Regions from separate parts of the Homo sapiens genome. Here region 2 is linked to region 1. Evidence: promoter capture Hi-C in 16 types of primary human blood cells and fetal thymus (Javierre and others, 2016). All regions are on one chromosome and are shown on one strand. The core of a region is centred on a gene start or on the middle of the fragment in contact, and the rest is flanking DNA. Distances in the headings are between cores, read along the strand shown. Region 1 holds the start of LAMA1 (laminin subunit alpha 1). Region 2 overlaps PTPRM (protein tyrosine phosphatase receptor type M).

The links. The method cuts DNA at HindIII sites, captures the fragments that hold promoters and counts their contacts. A CHiCAGO score of 5 or more calls a contact.
Region 2: a contact is called between a fragment that was not itself captured here and the fragment with the promoter of LAMA1 in region 1, in 1 of 17 cell types (M2 macrophages). The highest score is 5.1, in M2 macrophages.

What each region holds. Positions count from the first base shown.
Region 1 is chr18:7,116,065-7,119,615 of GRCh38, forward strand. It overlaps LAMA1 (laminin subunit alpha 1), which reads right to left and starts at 1,733. Exons shown (of 63, transcript NM_005559.4): 1 at 1,596-1,733. The coding sequence starts at 1,656. The HindIII fragment of the contact is 7,316 bases long and covers 1-3,551 here.
Region 2 is chr18:8,391,397-8,394,947 of GRCh38, forward strand. PTPRM (protein tyrosine phosphatase receptor type M) reads left to right here. Exons shown (of 33, transcript NM_001105244.2): 32 at 3,080-3,215. It overlaps LOC124904241 (a long non-coding RNA gene), which reads left to right and starts at 3,228. Exons shown (of 2, transcript XR_007066275.1): 1 at 3,228-3,551. The HindIII fragment of the contact is 3,901 bases long and covers 1-3,551 here.

The DNA.
Region 1 (3,551 bases), core at 483-2,982:
TGAAACATTAAAGGGCTCCTGCCCTGGGAGGTTTTCCGCAGCATCTCAAAGCAGGAAAGCCCCATGAGGTCCCACTTTCTCCAAAAACCACTCATAACCGCCAGGCCAAGTGCCGAGCCCCGAGGGGCCAGGACAACCTTCAGGCCATCTCCTCAGTCTAAGACTTTCAATTTCGGGGAACAATAAGCTGAGGCAAGCTGCTCTTTCTCTACCCTGTGGGAAACCGGGACTTGTTCACCTTCAGCAGCCTGATAGACAGGAGTCCCCTCGCAATCCTTTAAGGCTCCTCTCCCTCCCCAAAGGCTCCTTTCTTCTGGCTGATAACTATGTAAATTCCCTCTTCCCAGCCTGGCTCTGCGCAGCAGACTCGCAGCTATTCAATGCTGCGTTTCCAGCTCCGGTCCAGTGCTTCCATCATGAATGCTTGAATGAATGAGATGGTCGCGTTTCTGCAGAGCTCACAACTCAGCACAATGCCCAAACACACGTTTCCCACGAGGGCACTGCAAATTCCGCCCACTACTTTTGACTCGAATTTTTTTTTAATGAAGTTTATATTCGTGGGAATACGCCCATTGTCATGTGCTGCATACATTAAGATGTTTTCAACAAATATTTGTGACTGCCTAGCCAACACGAAGCCACGCTGCGAAGACAGCTCTAGGGGTGGCGTGGGTGACTAGGGTTGTCCCCCAAAAGGGAAAAGAATTCTTTCTTTCTTTTTCTTTCTTTCTCTCTCTTTCTTTTCTCTTTCTCTCTCTCTTTCTTTCTTCTCTCTCTCTCTCTTTCCGCCCGCCCGCAAAAACAGAAAATGAAAATTCGCTCTGAGTTTCTCTTCTCAATCCTTGCAACGCGCATGCAAGGTGCTCCCTTCTCCGCTGGTCCCTCGCCCCGGCGCGCCCACGGTCAATCCCGCGCAGTGAATGAGCGGGTTTGGCCACTTCGCCTATTGCACAAAAAGCGCGGGTCGGGAAGGCGCATCAGTGCCCTGGACGCCGCCTGCGGGTCCCCCTGCCCGGGACGGCTGGCTAGGGGCGCCCTTCTCGCCGCGTCTCTCCCCACTAGCCCGCTTGGCTGCCAGGGGCCCCGAGGAATCCGCCCTTTCCCGGCCGCCGCGACCCAGCTTGCGCAGCCGGACAATGAGGGCGACTCGGGAGAGCTCTTTCTCCATTCATCCCCCGCGCCCGGCCAACAGCCCCGCCACCCCCGCCCGCGCAGCCGGGGCACTAAAAGCAACCCCCGGCGCCCCGCTCCGGGCGCCCCGCTCCCGCCACCCCCAGCACTGCTCGCGTAGATGGCGCTCCTGGGTCGCGAAGTCCCGCAAAAGCCAGAGGCGAGGCTGGGCTTTAACCCCAAAGCCCGAGGAGGTTAAAGCCTAAGCCTGCAAAGAGCGGGCAGCGTCCGGCAGGAGCGGCGTCCCCATCCAGCCCTCCCCGGCAAGCGCGGGAGACCCACGTGGCCGAGACACCCACTCCGAGGTGGATCAGGATGCGCGCCCGGACTCCAGCAGCCCCAACGCGACGGGCTTTGTCCGCGGCCGCCCCCGCCCGCCCGCCTGCGGGGGACAGGGACCCTAGGACCCGGGCCGGGCTCACCTCTCTGCCGGCACTGCGCGGCGACACACAGCAGCAAGACCAGGAGCACGCCCCCGCGCATCTCGCCTCCGCCGCCACTCGGTGGGTCTGGGGAGAAAGCCGCGCGCCCGCCTGGAACGCTCCACGGGACGCGAGTCCGCGCTGCCCTGGCCCCGCCGCTCCTGGAGTCCTGCCGCCCCTCCCTCCAGCCGCCCTCGGACACACCCCTCGGCTGCGCCCCGCCCCGCCCCGTCCCGCCCCGGCTTGGCCCCGCCACCCAGACCCCTCCCCCGGGGGCGCCCAGCTTGGCCTCTGGGTCCCGGCGCACGCGGACCCCAAGTCGGGGAGGCCGGGCTGACCGCGGCCGCCTCCCCGGCTCCGGGTAGGAGGTGGGCAGAGAAGGTGGGCTGAGGGGAGGAGAAACTGGGCTGCGGGGGTCCGGGAGGGTGGATTCCGAGAAACTATGTGCCCAGCTGACCCTGCCCGCCCCGCCGCGGCCCTGCAGTCCCCGGGCCAGGACCCACGCGCCCCTGCCAGGAGCTGGGCGAGAGGCGACCCCTCGGGAAGCCACCCAGGCTCGGCCGACCCGCCGCCCTTTCCGCCGTGGGCAGAGGACTTGAGGATTTTTTCTGAAAATGAGTTGCAACTTGTTCCCGACTTTGTTTGCCTAAAGAAGGCAAGGTCACTTGGACTTAATTATTATAATTAGATACCCTTACTGCTGGAGAGAGAGGACGCGCTCCTGACACGCAACTTCAACTGCTGTTATTATAATTATTATTATTTTAAAACTATGTCTGGTCCCCGATAAAGAATTTTTAATTTCCTCTGATTTTTTTTTTCTATCAAAAGTATTGGATGGGTGCAGTGGCTCACGCCTGTAATTCCAGCACTTTGGGAGGCCGAGGCGGGTGGATCACTTGAGGTCAGGAGTTCGAAACCAGCCTGGCCATCATGGTGAAACCTCGTCTCTACTAAAAACATACAAAAATTAGCTGGGTGTGGTGGCACGCGCTTGCAGTCCCAGCTACTTGGGAGGCTGAGGCAGGAGAATTGCTTGAACCCGGGAGTGGGAGGTTGCAGTGAGCTGAGATCACACCAGCTGCACTCCAGCCTGGGCGACAGAGCGAGACTCTGTCTCAAAAAAGAAAAAAAAGGTATTCATAACACTTTGTAGATTTCACATTTTCTCAATATAAATATACAGGGACAATATCTCATTATCATCCCACCATCTTATTTTGCAGGGTTTTTTTTTCTTGATAGGAAGATAATTTCCTCTCACTTGTGTGAATCTATTTGACAACTCTATCAATTCCTGTTTTTCTGAGGACACTTCCTTACACATCTAGTGAGTAGAACTTAGTTATAGTACTTAGCCATCGATTAATTTTTAAAAATCATGGAACAAAATGATAGTTTGGCCGTTTTAAAAGGATGCAATATAGTTCAGTGAATACTCCATACAGTACTAAATTTAAAATGCAGACGTTCGTAACTATTAAAATGTTACTAAGTAATTATTAAATAAGTAAACTTAGTATTTAATAAATGATCAAATATTATAGTATTAGGCACATAGCTATTAAAATGCAGAATTATAAGCATTTATGCACTGAAATAACTGCACACACAGACCTAGCATTCATATAGATTATCTTTTGGGATCTTCACAACTCTATGAGATGCTTGCCAGGAGATAAGGAAGTGAGTTCTCAGTGTCAGCAAATGTCTGGTCTAGAGCTAGACCCCATGTCTGGTTTCTAGTCCATAGTCCTTTACAACACCACGCTGAAATCACAGAGGATGTTGATCAAAAGCAAACTTGGAGGTGGTGGCTAACGCCTGTAATCCCAGCACTTTGGGAGGCCGAGGCGGGTGGATCACCTGAGGTCAGGAGATCGAGACCATCCTGGCTAACGCGGTGAAACCCCGTCTCCACTAAAAATACAAAAAATTAGCCGGGGGGCGGTGGCA
Region 2 (3,551 bases), core at 602-3,101, 1.3 Mb after region 1:
ATTCTTCTTAGCAATATAAAACAATAAACTACCAATATAACACCGTGGGTGATTCTCACACAGACAACACAGAGTGAAATAAGCCAGTCTCAGAAGAAGACATAGTGTATGGTTCATTTACACAAAGCTGAAAAACAGGCAAAAACAATTGATGATGCTAGGCTTAAGAATGGATTCTCTTTGGTGATACTGATGGTATTGTTGAGGAAGGAACGTGAGGGAGCCTCTTGGGGACTGAACGTGGTTTGTATCTTGATCTGAATGGTGGTTACATGGTGTATGCATTGGTAAAAATTGACTGAGCTGTCTACTTACGGTCTTTATTGTAGGTATATTATACTTTAGTTAAAAAACTGATTCAGAATTTCATAATGGGCTGATCAAGCTGATATCCGAACACGATGATCTCTCTTAAAACCATAAAACAAGGGACAACCAGATATTTTTGGCTTGCTTCCTAATGAAAGTATACTTTAAGTATCCTTGTATAAATAAATCAATCTTGAATTCTTACCAAGCCCTGGAACTACCTACCGATTTACAGGAAATACAGAGTTAGAAAGCAGCATATTAAATAATATCACAGAGATGTGATGAATGAGAAAAATCTAGGATGTGGGACTCTCTACAGGACACAGATGAACTTGTTTCCTCAACAAATAAATTCTCAAGAAAAAAGAGAGAGCAAAGAGGAACTCACAGAGTAAAATAAATTTGCAAGACATACCAACCAAATCCAATCTGTGGACTTTGCCTAGATGTGGATTTTTTAAAAAGCATCTGTAAGAAACAATCTGAGAGTGGATTTTTTAAAAAAGCAGCTGTAAGAAACAATCTGGGAAACTGGAACACTGACTAGAAATTTGATAATTTTAAAACAGTAATGTTATTATTTTAGGTATGATAGTTATACTGTGTACTGTGTTTAAAAATAAAAAGGTCCCATGGCCGGGCGCGGTGGCTCACACCTGTAATCCCAGCACTTTGGGAGGCCGGGGCGGGCAGATCACTAGGTCAGGAGATTGAGACTATCCTGGCTAACACGGTGAAACCCCATCTCTACTAAAAAAATACAAAAAAATTAGCCGGGCATGGTGGCAGGTGCCTGTAGTCCCAGCTACTCGGGAGGCTGAGGCAGGAGAATGGCGTGAACCCAGGAGGCAGAGCTTGCAGTGAGCCAAGATCGCGCCACTGCACTCCAGCCTGGGTGACAGAGTGAGACTCCATCTCAAAAAAAAAAAAGGTCCCTTATCTCCTTGAGGAGAGAGTGACTGCAGAGTTGATGCAGGGATAGTGCGGGATGAGCCTGGACCATTATGTGGTTGCAGAGAGTAAAGAAATAAAACAGGCTGGGGACTTGTCAGAAAAGAACAAAAGAGCCAGCCTGACGGAGCTCCCACTGGCCAAAGCTGGAACAATGTGAACAAAATCAATATTAGTACCCTTGGATTTTAGCTGATAGAATAAAATTATTATGTATAAGCTCACACTGAAATAAACAAATCATAAAATAAATAAACAATAATAGGGAAGAAGAGACAGCTCTTTCTTAGTGTAGAATGTTGAAAGAGAGGGAAACAGGAAATCACCATTAGGCAAACACCACAGTGATAATTAATTGTTGCAGACAAGATCCACCAACGGATGCTCAAATCAGTGGGCGAGAAACAAAATATTTGCGTAGTCCCAAAATATCTTCCTCCCAGATATTTATTGACTGCAAAGAGAAAGATGATAACTTTATGGTGAGAAAATCTGGCAGACACCATCTTAACAAGTGAGCAAGTTAACATCACCAGTAATAAGACAGATGGACATCCTGAACCCCTGGGAGGAGGGAACATCCCCTCTCTGGTTTTCTTACCGAAATGCACGGCCTTGTTTCCAGTCATGAGAAGACATCAGACAAACCCAAATGAAGGGATGGTCTACATGTTATAGTTTGTGATGACTTCTCAGATTGCGGCTGGGGACGACAGCTACTTTCTACTTCTGTGTTCTACATTCTTTATATTCTACAAATCACTGATCAGTGCTCTTCAAAAGTGTCAAGGTCAGGAAATACAAGGAAAGACTGAAGGAAACTAAGGAGACAGGACAACTACATGCACGACTGGATCCTGGACCAGAAAAAGGACATTCGTGGAGGAACTAGTAAGATGTGACTACAGTCTGTGGTTTAGTTAATAGTATTGTCCCAGCATCACGTTCTTGGTTTGCATAATGCGCTGTGGGCAAGTAAGGTGTTCATATCAGGGAAGTTGGATATGCATTCTCTATGCTATTTTTACATTTCTGCACATCTAACATGGGTTCATAGTAAAAAGTTTTCTTTAAAAAGAGCCTCTATGTTTTATAGATAAATAATGAAATGCCAATGGATTTGTTGTTGTTGTTGTTGTTGTTGTTTGAGAGGGAGTCTCGCTCTGTTGCCCAGGCTGGAGTGCAGTAGCACAATCTCGGCTCACTGCAAGCTCCACCTCCCGGGTTCACGCCATTCTCCTGCCTCAGCCTCCCGAGTAGCTGGGACTACAAGCACCCGCCACCACGCCCGGCTAATTTTTTTTGTATTTTTTAGTAGCGATGGGGTTTCACCGTGTTTAGCCAGGAAGGTCTCGATCTCCTGACCTCGTGATCCACCCACCTTGGCCTCCCAAAGTGCTGGGATTACAGGTGTGAGTCACTGCGCCCAGCTGCTAATGGATGTTTTTAAAGGCCAGATACGTCTTTGAACGTAACCCGTACTTGTCACAGCAATTTTCCTGGCAGAACCTAAATAAGGTTCATTGAAAATTTTCTACCATGGGCCCTTATCGATGAATTGCTGTATCAGAGAATGTGACCAGGGCTGAGGTGAGCTGGGAAAGGCTCTGCAGTCAGGTGACCTGTGGCCAAACACTGCGGATGGCTTGCTCTGTTTGCTTTAATTAAAAGAATCTGCCCAGGTAAGAGGTCCCCCGGCCTCAGAGCCCTTTGTTGTTACTGTTCCCCAGGGTTTAGACAGCTTGTTTCCACAGGTGTTTGCAAGATGCAGTGTAAAGACAGACCGAGTGCAGTCATCTGATCTTTTTCACGACAGGAACGGGGGAGGCCGCAGTGGGACGTTCTGCGCCATCAGCATCGTATGTGAGATGCTCCGGCACCAGAGAACCGTGGATGTCTTTCACGCTGTGAAGACACTGAGGAACAACAAGCCCAACATGGTCGACCTCCTGGTAGGACACCCCCTCTGAGCTGTTCCATGAGACACCCCATTAGCATTAGAATCCACTCCAGCTCCCAGATTTGCAGGGAAACTGATGCGTAGAGGAAGAGACTCATTTTCAAAATCACAATGTAATCACTTTGCTTGTAGGGCTTTTTTCTTCTTTCTTGTTCTCCCTCTTCCTCTCTTTGTTCTTCACACGGAGACTTTGTCTCCAGCTCATTCGAAATGCGGAAATAGCTGAAACTCACAAGTGAACATCCTTATTAACTTCCCTTCCTGGCAGTGCCTTCCATGTGGCTAAGCACTTAGTCTTCACAGAGAAGAAATAATCATAGTACGTGAA